Regions from separate parts of the Homo sapiens genome. Here regions 1, 2 and 3 are each linked to region 4. Evidence: promoter capture Hi-C in 16 types of primary human blood cells and fetal thymus (Javierre and others, 2016). All regions are on one chromosome and are shown on one strand. The core of a region is centred on a gene start or on the middle of the fragment in contact, and the rest is flanking DNA. Distances in the headings are between cores, read along the strand shown.

Region 1 (3,056 bases), core at 485-2,984, 670 kb after region 4:
GCTGAGCACTACTGTGGCAACTAACTCTCATTTCTGGGTGGTTAGCTCGATCAGCAAAGTTAAAGATTTAAAAGAATGACAGGTAGAGAGATGGCCCAAAAAATGGTCTGTTGGAAAATTCAAAATTATCTCAGTTTAGGTACTATTAATAAATGTTCCATGAAAAATAATAACTTTATACTTGAAGTTGCTTTCAATGTGAACATAATGGCTGGGTGCGGTGGCTCACACCTGTAATCCCAGCATTTTGGGAGGCCGAGGCAGGCAGATCACCTGAGGTCAGGAGGTCGAGACCAGCATGGCCAACATGGTGAAACCCCGTCTCCATTAAAAATACAAAAATTAGCTGGGTGTGGTGGTGCACGTCTGTGGCCCCAGCTACTCAGGAGGCTGAGGTACAAGAATCGCTTGAACCTGTGAGGCGGAAGTTGCAATGAGCCAAGATCACACCATTGTACTCCAGCCTGGGCAACAAAGTGAGACTTCATCTCAAAAAGAAAAAAGTAAACATAACTACACCAAAATTCAAACAAAAATATTAACACTGTTGCCCTTTATGTGAATATGAAAGTATTACCTCAAGTTGTATTTTTTAAAGCTAATTCCATTCCTGTTCTTTTATCCTATATAATAAGTCTTATCCCATATGATTTTAATATCTGATACTTTAATAAAATGAGTAAGGATTCTTCCTAATTTCTATGATCAGATACATGTATGTCATGGATAAGAACCCAACTGTTTTTTCTCTAAGACAAAAATCTAAGATACTTGGTCACTAAAAATCCACCAGCATTTTATATAATTGTTGGTCACTCCCTAATGCCAAGAGTCAGTGCAAAAAAAGCATAGAAAGGTGGCAGAAAAGAAGAAAAAGGCGAGGGCAGCCAATTAAGGCAAAAAGGAGAGGAACTGAGATGAAGCATGTAGAACATTTGGAGCCGGGGGGAAATCTCACTCCTCTCTAAAAGTCCCAAAACTGTATTTGAGTTTGGACTGATTTATTTCTAGGAAGCACCGCTGCTATTTCAGATCCGCTTACCTAGGCATCTTCTTTTCACCCTTTCCAGCTCATGCACTCTTCTGGCTGACAGCACAAGAGAAACTCCTAGTTTAGACAACTGGTAAGCCAGCTCCTCACCAATTCCACTCGAGGCTCCAGTCACCCACACCACCATATCAGTCAGCTCCCATTCTATGGAAGGAATGTAAATGGAAGGAAGAAAATAAGCAATGAATTACGCTCATAAATCCAAGATTAGAAAAAAAAAAGAAAGCCTTAAACAATACCACTAAATATGAAGGCATGATGTATAGAGTTAAAATTTGAAATATTCTAAGAAAGCATCTCCTTCTTAACTAAAAAAAAAAAAAAGCATTAATACAAATCATACTAGTAACAGTTATCAACACAGTATTTGTATATTACAGAACCTTCATGACTTTTCCAGACTTTACTTCAAGGTAAGCCTTATAACCTCATGGTTTCACTCTAAGGCTCTATTTAACACAAACAGGTAAGATAAATATGATAGATAAGATAAACAGGCTAAGTAAATACAAAAATCACTGTCTGGACTCACTTTTCCTTAGCCATTAAATGAGGCATTCAGATTAGATGATGGCTGAAGGTCACATCCAGTTTTTAATTCTATTATTCTAATATTTTGCAATGGAGGTTGATGAAGAATCTAAATATACCAAGTTCTGTGCTGTTGATGGAAACATCCTAGATTTTTAAAGTAGTATTTTCCCCATTTGCCAATAATGCCTGATGCCTATCAGCTCAAGGTCATTTTGTAAAAATGTTCCCCAGATGCCTGAGCTTTCATCTTAGGAGAATATAGTAATTCACCCAAGAACAAATGCATATTACAGAGAGATGAAATATTGTACTCTGCTTCTCCAATTATGTTCCTCTTAAAAGACTACAAATGTTACAGTACTAAAGCAATGACAAATGGTTTATTCTTTTCTCCAATGAAAAACTTATTAGCACTTCAGGAGATGATATTCACTGTCTCTCTGAACCCGTAAAGTCACTGTTATGCAAAGTTCCTGGGTGACTTATTTACTAAAATATATGTTATTTATCAAAAATATCAAATATCGTATCACTTAACATCACATTTCCGATTTTAGATCAGAAAAGTTAAAATCAGGAAATGATTGTACTGTTTTAAACAGCTCTAAATCCTAACTGTGATGTTAACAGTACCATCCCTGGAGACTGCCAGGGTTCAAATGCCAGCTCCATCACACACAGCACTGAAATGCTCCCAGGTGAGAACTTGGTGCCTTAATTTTCCACAACTGGAAATGTGATGAATAAGAACACATCCTTCACAGGATTGTTGAGAAATGAGTTAAAACATGGAAAGCACTCAGGGCAGTATCTAGTACATACTCAGTGTTTAATAAACGTCAATTATAATTATTGCTCAAGTTTTTTAACAGATGGACTTTACTACAGCAAAACATAGAACAGTCACTTAATAACGTATGTCTCCTAACTTCTCCAGCCAGGAAAACAGAGTTACCAATTCTAATGGCTTAACGTTTTTACATTACTTCCTATGTACTTAGCACATTGTCTACTAAAAGCCTCACCAGAACTGTATGGAAAGGTATTATTATCTCAGTTTTACAGAAAAGGTAACTGAGGTTTACAGAGATTAATTTGTCCCACTAGACCATAGATTCCATTAAGGGTAGGACCCTGTCTACCTTGTTCATTGCTGTGGCCTCAGTGCTTAGCAAAGACTGGAATATTGAAAAGGCTCCATAAATAACTACTGAATAAACACCCAAGAACCCTGGCAGAGCCGGGATATAAGCCCAGGTATATCTAGCTCCAAAGCCCACACTGTCCACTATTTCATGATATACACATTTACATATGATCAATATTTTAAAACCCAACTGTTTCTTAGACATTCAAGAAAATACCACTTGTCCTTAAGAAAAAGGTTCCATGTAAATATCTCAACTAAGGCCAGGTACGGTGGCTCACATCTGTAATCCCAGCACTTTGGGAGGCCAAGGCGGGCAGATCA
Region 2 (2,954 bases), core at 383-2,882, 760 kb after region 4:
ATTCCAGGCTCACATATAGAAATAACAACATATGGCTGAGGAAGGCATTTTCTCTCCTGTGATTCTTCTTATTAGGGAAGAAAACCTCTCTACCCCCTCAAGACTTCTCAATTTCCTTTATCCAGAATTGGGCTACCTCACTATGTCCCCAGGCAGTGCTTCTCAATTTTTTCACACCATGACACAAATACAAAGATAACGTTTTTGTGACACAGAGGGGTACCTGGGTAATGTTGCTTGTGGCCAGTCATACCATCCCAGGGCTTCAGCAGCTCAGCCTCACTTGAATGTCCCAAGGGCTTAAGGGATCCATACCTTATCACATCTATGACCCATCTGAGACATACCAGGGTATGCTGGCACATAGATTGGTATGCTCTGCTCTAAGCTACAAGGGAGGGTGAGAGAGCATGCATCCATATACATGCTCTAGTGAGAGAAGGATCTGCCAACGAGGAGGCTCTGCCAAGTAGTAGGAAGTGGTGGGGCAACCAACCGCATCAGTCATCTTTTCAAGGGTGCCTTCATCTATTCTAATTTTCACAACACATTTTAGGAGGAAGTATTCTGTGGAGGATAAAACCAAGGCTTATAATTTAAATGACTTGCCTGAGGTCACAGAACCAGTGAGTGGTTCAATTGACACAGCAGATGCAGATCCAGGTGTGTGCTGGGAAATGTTTAACAACCACCTTTCCAAATGTAGTTCCAACATGGCTATTGGTTAATATTTTCATTTAAGATAAAAATAAAACAACAAAAATGTATGTTAGAGCTTATTAGTCAATGATGTGACTTCATTGCTAAATTGAATGTTTTTATGCTATTCACCATGTAACAGTTATAGACACGACATGTCTTTTACATTTAATCTGCATAAAACATTTTCTCTGTCACTTAAGCCTAGACCAAGCTTGTCCAACCCTGGGCCTGTGGGCCGCATACAGCCCAGGATGGCTTTGAATGCAGCCCAACACAAATTCGTAAACTTTCTTAAAATGTGAGATTTTGTGTGTGTGTGTGATTTTGTTTCGTTTTGTTTTGTATTAGCTCATCAGCTATCATTAGTGTTAGCGTATTTTATGTGTGGCCCAAGACTATTTTTCTTCTGCCAATGTGGCCGAGGGAAGCAAAAGATTGGACAACCCTGGTCTAGCCCACAACCAGCAAAGCAATAAGTGAAGCCCTCATCTGTGGTGTCCGCTGATCAAGCTACCAAAGAAAACTCACTAAATGTGGTATTGGGAAGAGATGTACAATTACATATAGGGAATTTCCACCATGCAGACACAATGCATGTAAATTGCCTAAAGAACAAAGACAATATTAAAATGTATTAACATAATTTGGAAGTGATGTTTTTATCACATACTACCTTTGTTTAAAATTTATTTCATTGGAAGTTTATCTAACTTAATTTTTATTTCTATTTTTATATTTATTTATTGATTGATTTTTGAGATGGAGTCTCACCTTGTCACCCAGGCTGGAGTGCAATGGCGCAATCTCAGCTCACTGCAACCTCTGCCTCCTGGGTTCAAGCAATTCTCCTGCCTCAGCCTCCCAAGTAGCTAGGATTACAGGCTCCCGACACCACACCTGGCTAATTTTTGTATTTTTAGTAGAGACGGGGTTTCACCATGTTGGCCAGGCTGATCTCAAACTCCTGATCTCAGGTGATCCACCCACCTCAGCCTCCCAAAGTGCTGGGAATATAGGCATGAGACACTGCACCCAGCCTATATCATTTAATTTTTAATAATGAGTATTTAACAAACAGCAGGCAAAATTTCTGAAAATTTAATAATCTGCTGTCATGAGCCAGTATAGGCCAGCTCTCCACACCACGGACTGGAACTAAGTTCAGCACTCTTTCCACTCCTGCTGCCTTTACTACCAGCATGTAAAAGCAATGATGCTCAGTATCGTACGGGGGACAAACCTGGGTACCCGTCATTAATTTCTGTGACCCTGGGTAGTTACTACCAGATGCTTAGTTTTCTCTTCTATAAAGGAGGAGATTAAGAGTCCTTGCCCTGTCTACCTGCAAGGGTTTTTGAGAGGATTAAACTGGTTAGTCTGTATGATAGTGCTTTGTAAACTGCAGAGTCAGGTTCAGATAAAAGGCTTTATGATGATGACAATTTCATTACTGTTTTCAACCAGGCCACCATTGTTAAGGATGCAGTGTGTCGCTGCTTTCAAAAGTATGGTTTAGTTTGAGATCTTCTGTAATGCCCAGGATAGACAGTAAACACCCAGAAGAATTGTTCTGAAGAAGCCCACTCAAATCTGTGCTAGTCTTTACTTAGCACAAATAGGTACCTATATTGGGATGAAAACTATTTATTTGAAGCTTATAATTCACTCTTTTCTAGCTGCTGCTGGATTGTCTGACGGGTCTTTCCTGGAGTTATGGAATACTTCTCAATTTCAATAGTTGAATAAAGGTGTTTTTTTTTCTGTCATGCAGGCTAGGGTGCAGGGGCATGATCTCGGCCCACTGCAACCTCCACCTCCTGAGTTCCAGTGATTCTCCTGCCTGCGATTCTCCTGCCTCAGCTTCCCAAGTAGCTGGGATTACAGGCGTGTGCCACCAGGTGTGGCTAATTTTGTATTTTCAGTAGAGACGGGGTTTCCCCATGTTGGCCAGGCTGGTCTTGAACTCCTGGCCTCAAGTGATCCACTCGCTTTGGCCTTCCAAAGTGCTGGGATTACAGGTGTGAGCCACTGCACCCAGACTATTTTTAATTTCAATTTTTAAAAAAGTTGCTTTGCTTTTTGCACCAGACCAACTCACCAAGTTATTTTCTATGGATTATACCCGTGCACATAATGTAGTTTCCTGATTATAAATTAAATATCCCTAATGTCCACGTTGAAACACTCTCGAAACTTAAATGACCATAAACTATTTGCCTTGAGTTTGCTGAACTTGTCTTTGGGCTGTAAGA
Region 3 (2,896 bases), core at 66-2,565, 700 kb after region 4:
GTAATTTCCATTTTCATTTCATTTAAAAATGATCAAATATCAGCAATATCCCTATGGTTTTTTGCTTGAACTTATAAAAACAGTATTGTATTATACACTTCACACTGAGACTTGCTTTTCCAGTTTACCAATATCATGAACATCCCTCCAGATAGATTTAGTAGATTTGACACTTTCTTTTTAATCACTGTCTACTATTCCATTGAATAGATATACCACAATTATTCAATCATATCCATTACTGATGGGCATTAAAACTGTTTCCTTTTTGTATTAAATAACTACAACCAATGGTTTATATCCATGTGTATCTGTGTTCCTTATATACTGATGCTGTTATTTCTATGAGATGAATTCCTAAGAGTAAAATTGCCGAATTAAGAGTATATTTAGGTTTGTTTAGATATGCAAATACTTACCATTGTGTTTTAATTGCCTACAGTATTCAGTACAGTAACATGCTATACAGGTTTGTAGCCTAGGGTATAGTATCTATCCTAGGTGTGTAGTAAGCTATACCATCTAGGTTTGTTTAAGTACACTCTACGATGTTGATATAATGACAGAATCGCCTAACAACCCATTTCTCAGAAAGTATTCTCATCATTAAGCAACACATGGCTGTGTTTGTTCCTTTGTACTCCGTATTACTTCATGCTATTTCAAATTTTGTGTTCTTTTAAATTGTGTTTTCTAGTTACTTGCTGCTGGTATATGAATATGAAATTAACTATTATAAATTGCTTCGATAACAAGGCACTGTGCTAAATTATCCTATTTTTAAATTCTATATGTTTTCTATGTAATTAAACCTATTATTAATAATATAATGATAGTCTAATTTCTTTTTCCAATACTTATGTCTTGATTTCTTTTTTTTTTTTTTGCACTGTCAGGAATTTCTAATACAGTGTTGACTTGAAGTGATAAAATGGGTAACATTGCCTAGTCCCTAACTTTATTAGGAAAGCTTAAAATTTTTCTGATTTAGGATTATGTTTGCTGAAGTTTTTTATAGATAGATAGATAGGCAGAATCTTTAGGTGAAGAATATTCTGTTTCTTTTACCCTCCATTTTTTACTACAAAACTTTCCAAATATACAAAAGTTAAAAGAATAGTACATGATCATCCATATACCCACTAACTATTAGCAATTTGTCATATTTGTTTCATCTATAAGAAATATAAATGGGGCTATGAAGGCTGTGGGAAATCGTACAGTGATTGAAATCATATATAAACATAGCAATGTCTTTGGGGTCTAAAAAATTAGTGCTTTCTAAACTTTATGAAGGAGTTTCCAACAAACGACTTATTAATGTTGATCAGCACATTGGATCGGAATGTTGGAATGCTGGCAGCAGGTTTGTAGGCAGATGCTTGTTCTTTAGCAGACATAGCAAGAGAAGAAGTTTCCAACTTTAAATCTGACTTTGGTTATAACACTCCACTAAAACATCTTGCAAACAGAGTGGACATGTATGTACATGCATATACACTCTACAGTGCTGTTAGATCTTTTGCCTTCAGTTTCATGTTAGGGTCTTACAGTATGAATGACAGTGCACAATTTTCCATGATTGACTCATCAGGTGTTTTATATGGTTATTGGGCCTGTGCCACTGGCAAAGCCAGGCAAGCTGTAAAACAGAAATAGAAAAGCTTCAGATGAAAGAAATGACCTGCTATGATACTGTTACAGAAGTTGCTCAAGTAATTTACATAGTACATGATGACGCTAAGGATAAAGTTTACGAACTCAGCTGGGTTAGTGGTTTAACTAAAGGAAGACATGAAATTGTTTCAAAAGATATAAGGGAATAAGCAGATAAATATGCTAAAGAATCCTTGAGTGAAGAAGACAGGTCAGATGATGATAATATGTAAAATTTACTCCAGTATCTATTCTATGTTAAATTCCTATTACAATCCCGCGTAACTATATAGCCCTGTGGATTACACATACCCACTGACCAATTTTTTATTAAATTTTCATCTTGTAAAAGACAAAACAGAAACAACAACAAGATAATTTTAAAAATTAAAAATATTACCCCACTACTTTCTGGCCTCCATGATTTCTAATGAGGAACCCGCCATCAGTCTTATTAAAGATCACTTGTACATGATGAGTTGCTTCTCCATCTTTGTCTTTTGATAATTTGATTATGTGTCCTGGCATGATTCCTTTTGCATTTATCCTTCTTGGAGTTAATTGAGCTCCTTAAATGCTTAAATTCATGTTTTAATTTTTAAAAATCAAATTCAGGAAATTTTAAGCCATTATTTGTTCAAATATTTTTTTCTGACCACTTTGTCCTGTCCTCTCCTACTGGGATTCCCAATATGTGTATTTGGTTTGCTTAATGGCATCCCATAGGTCTCTCAGGCACTGTTTGTTTTTCTGCATTCCTTGACTGAATAATTTCAAAGGACCTATCTTTATGTTTGCTAATTCTTTCTATCATCCTGCTCAAATATGCTATTAAAATTCTCTAGAGAAATTTTTATTTCAGTTACTCTACTTTTCAGGTCGAGAATTTCTGTCTGGTTTCTTTTTATAATTTCTATTTTTTATTGATATTTTCTATTCATTTATCATTTCCCTGATTTTCTCTCACACTTTCTCCATGGTTTCCTTTAGCTCTTTGTGCATATTTAAGACAGTTTGACTAGGTAGTCCAATGTCTGTGCTTCCTCAGAGATAGTTTTTGTTCATTTCTTTTGTGAATGGGCCATACTTTCTTGTTTCTTTGCATGCTTTATAATTTTTTGTCAAAAATGGAAACTTAAAAGCAAGATAAAGAACAGTATTATAATATTTATTTAATAAACTCTTCTATAGCCAGGTATTTTTCTGCATGTTTTACAAATATGAAATCGTTTAGTCTTCT
Region 4 (3,154 bases), core at 609-3,108:
TAAACTGTTGAGGTTTTAAAAATGGAATCGTAAACATAAATTCTGTCTCCCTCAAGTGGCCTCCCAGTCTGGAAGTGACACCATTCTCTGGGAAAATGGCATCAATTTCTCCAGAGGCATTCTTCGTTAACTCGTGGATTTCAGCTGCCTAAGGTTGCTCTAAAAGTGCCTGTTCTATCAGTTATCATTCATAATCAGGCTAATCTGAAACCTAGTTCTTCAGGGGGAATCAAGGTCCAACTTTCTAACAGATGATTTGCATGGCTTGAAGATTTTTAAGAAAAGGATAACTCTATTCCTGGTAAACTGGCTCCTGGCTCACTTCCAGTCACAATGACTAAAGCATTCTTACTGATAGAATTCAGCTCCTGGGAGGTAGTAGTCTGATGAGAAACCAGATGCCAGCTTGCCAGGTCATCCCTCCTGTAAGGGTTATGGTTATAGAGATGCCCTGCTTTACATGATAAGCTGTACAAGGATCTGTACTAGAGAATCCAGCAAAACCTTTTAATGGCTCAATAGGCCTAGGGAACTTTAGCGATCATATAAACCTTGCAATCTATCTCCAGGAATACAGTATCTTGCATACTCTCATTTAATCCTAACAAAAAAACTCTATGAGGGAAAAGAAGAAACACAGGCACAGAGAGATTAAGTAATTTGCCTAAGGTTGCACAGCTTTAGGGGGTTATCAGGATTTGAAACCAGGCAATGTGTGTTCCTGTTCTTAAAGAAAAGCAACATTCGTATCTTAATGATTTATAAACTGCTTTGTTCATTCATTCTCATTTAATTCTTCAAAGAAGTGGGGGAGGTGAGGAAAGGAGACCAGGTTTAGTAACTTATTAAGTGTGATTCTGTGTCTACCAAGCATATTCTCAGCCAGCCTGGAACCCTGGTACATTGGCTGTTCTTCGCTCTTTCCTTGACCCCACCGTACCTTGCTTTATCCACCGGTGAAATCTCTAGGAATGCCTCACCAGTGCAGAGGGAGGCGCTGAGTCAGGGTAACACGCAATTCCTCGCTCCTCAAGGGTCTCCCAAAACCACAGGCGGATGGGAGTCAGGGAAAATCGAAATTACACGCACCAAATACGCAAGGCTGCTGACACACGTTGGCAGTGATTTACCTTTCTATTAATTGCAAGGTTTCGCGGAGTAGGTTAGTTGCCAGAGTTCCAGCCCAGAAAAACCGTTAATGTAGTTAGTCGCGTCCCGGTTGCAGCTCTGCCCTGGGCTGGAAAGGTCCCGCCCATTACCTGTGGCCAGCACGAAGGCCGGGACGCTGTGGAAGCGCACCGGTCCGTGGCTGCGGCCGTCCTCGCATGCCACGAAGGCGGTCACCAGCCCGCAGGGGCAGTGGATATTGACGCGGGCCTCGCGGGTGCCCGCAGGGGGCGCCGGCACAAGCCCGAAGTCCAAAGCGAAGCGGCCCAGCGCCAGCACTGCGTGGCCGCACATGGAGCTGTAGCCCTCGTTGTGCAGGAACAGGACGCCCAGATGCGCGTCCGGCAGCTCGCTCGGGACTAGGACCGCCCCGTACATGTCCCGGTGCCCTCGGGGCTCGAACATGAGCCGTCGCCGCACGTGGTCAAGGTGCTGGCGCATGTAGCGCCGCTTGGCCAGCAGGGTGGGCCCAGACACCTCCGGACACCCCGCCAGCACGATACGCAAGGGCTCGCCGCCCGTGTGCATGTCCACCACCGACAGCACCGGCGTCCCTGGATCATGCGGGGGCAGCCGGGGCACCGCCAGCGCGCTCTCCATGGTCTGCGTCGGGGGAGACGAGTACGGTCCCGCAGCTATGGCTTCAAGCCCGACCCTCACCCACTGACTCCGCGGGAGGAGGGCGGGACGCTAACCAGCCACGTCCGGGGGGCGGGGTCTCGGAGCCTAAACCCGGAAGCGAGGGAGGAACTTCGGAGCTGTCGCCCGGGTTACCGGGAGGCGGAGCCGCCGAGCTCGCTGTGGCCCGGATGTTCGGTGCAGCTGCCAGATCCGCTGATCTAGTGCTTCTCGAAAAAAACCTTCAGGCGGCCCATGGGTGAGTGGTCGCCAAGATCCCGGGAAGCGTTTCTGGTAGTCCCGACTACTTTCCTACACGGCTGGCCTCGGGCTCGGCTCTTTGTAGGCGGCCTTCGGTTGGCGGCGCAGGCTCGCCCCTTGACCCCGCCCGCCCTCGGGCCGGGCTCCGCACTCCTGCGGGGTTGGGGTGGTCTGTCCGCAACGGGCTACTAGGGGAGGCGCGCTGTCTGCGGCGAAATGCCAGGTCTTTGTTGTTTGGTCCGAAATGTCTCTTCAGTCCCTTAGTTTAATGTCGAGGGAACACTTGCTTGAGGGTTGACTTCGGAATTGAAAACGCGGGTGATAGTGCAGAAAAAACAGTAAAGCAGAAGCAAGTTGCTGCATAATTTGTCTACTGCTTCAACCTCAAACGTAGATTTATAGCGCCCGTCACAAAGGGCAGGACCGCTGCAAAAAAATGGAATCTTAAAACTTTAGCCATCGTTCGCTAAAGGAAATGAAAGGAGAAATTCAACAGTCGCTTGGAGCCTGGGTTTTGCTTAGTAAGTGATAGGCTGTTTATTTCAGTTCAGTTTATCATACTGGTTTTCAGGCCTTGGATTTTGAGAAACTTTAGATTATTGATATTCACGTGTATTTATTAAGCATCTACTAGATGTAAAGCCCATACAGAAGTTTCCAATTCCTTACCTTCTGCATTCTTGAAAAACCTGAAATATTCATTTTCATGTATTAATTTAGAACATTGTGATTACAATTGGTTACAAAAAAAATAAGCGCCCATTAAAGAGGCCAGTGGGTTTAAAAAGCTAAGTCCGAAATTTGTTAAAAGCGAAAATATTAAACTGGAGGAATATTATTCAATGCTGTTTCTCTTTTTCTCTCAGCAGCATAAGGAGAAGGAAGTAAAAAGTCTGCTTGAATGTGAAAGGAGAGAAGGCACTGTAGACCAGGCAGTCTAGATTGTGAATTCGTGAATAATTTGGGAAATGATTGTTCAAGAATAGTCAAAAGATGCATAATTTTTCAAATTAATTCACATGTAGACCGCAGTTTGTTTTGAGACGGAGTCTCCTTCTGTAGCCCAGGCTGGAGTGCAGTGGCGCGATCTCGGCTCACTGCAACCTCT

The links. The method cuts DNA at HindIII sites, captures the fragments that hold promoters and counts their contacts. A CHiCAGO score of 5 or more calls a contact.
Region 1: a contact is called between a fragment that was not itself captured here and the fragment with the promoter of L3HYPDH in region 4, in 2 of 17 cell types (neutrophils and naive CD8 T cells). The highest score is 12.6, in neutrophils.
Region 2: a contact is called between a fragment that was not itself captured here and the fragment with the promoter of L3HYPDH in region 4, in 1 of 17 cell types (neutrophils). The highest score is 7.1, in neutrophils.
Region 3: a fragment that was not itself captured here is called in contact with the fragment with the promoter of L3HYPDH in region 4 in 2 of 17 cell types (neutrophils and naive B cells); the score reaches 5.9 in neutrophils.

The regions. Positions count from the first base shown.
Region 1 is chr14:60,154,958-60,158,013 of GRCh38, forward strand. DHRS7 (dehydrogenase/reductase 7) reads right to left here. Exons shown (of 7, transcript NM_016029.4): 2 at 1,043-1,195. Among named protein-coding and RNA genes, the nearest start is that of DHRS7, 8.9 kb to the right of the region's middle. The HindIII fragment of the contact is 4,388 bases long and covers 1-3,056 here.
Region 2 is chr14:60,242,154-60,245,107 of GRCh38, forward strand. LOC101927702 (a long non-coding RNA gene) reads right to left here. Exons shown (of 3, transcript NR_188027.1): 2 at 610-717. Among named protein-coding and RNA genes, the nearest start is that of PPM1A, 5.6 kb to the right of the region's middle. The HindIII fragment of the contact is 1,443 bases long and covers 912-2,354 here.
Region 3 is chr14:60,178,129-60,181,024 of GRCh38, forward strand. It overlaps the pseudogene PSMA3P1. Among named protein-coding and RNA genes, the nearest start is that of DHRS7, 14 kb to the left of the region's middle. The HindIII fragment of the contact is 694 bases long and covers 969-1,662 here.
Region 4 is chr14:59,482,550-59,485,703 of GRCh38, forward strand. It overlaps L3HYPDH (trans-L-3-hydroxyproline dehydratase), which reads right to left and starts at 1,859. Exons shown (of 5, transcript NM_144581.2): 1 at 1,260-1,859. The coding sequence starts at 1,767. It overlaps JKAMP (JNK1/MAPK8 associated membrane protein), which reads left to right and starts at 1,968. Exons shown (of 7, transcript NM_016475.5): 1 at 1,968-2,044. The coding sequence starts at 2,041. RefSeq lists an enhancer at 1,934-2,213. The HindIII fragment of the contact is 9,651 bases long and covers 1-3,154 here.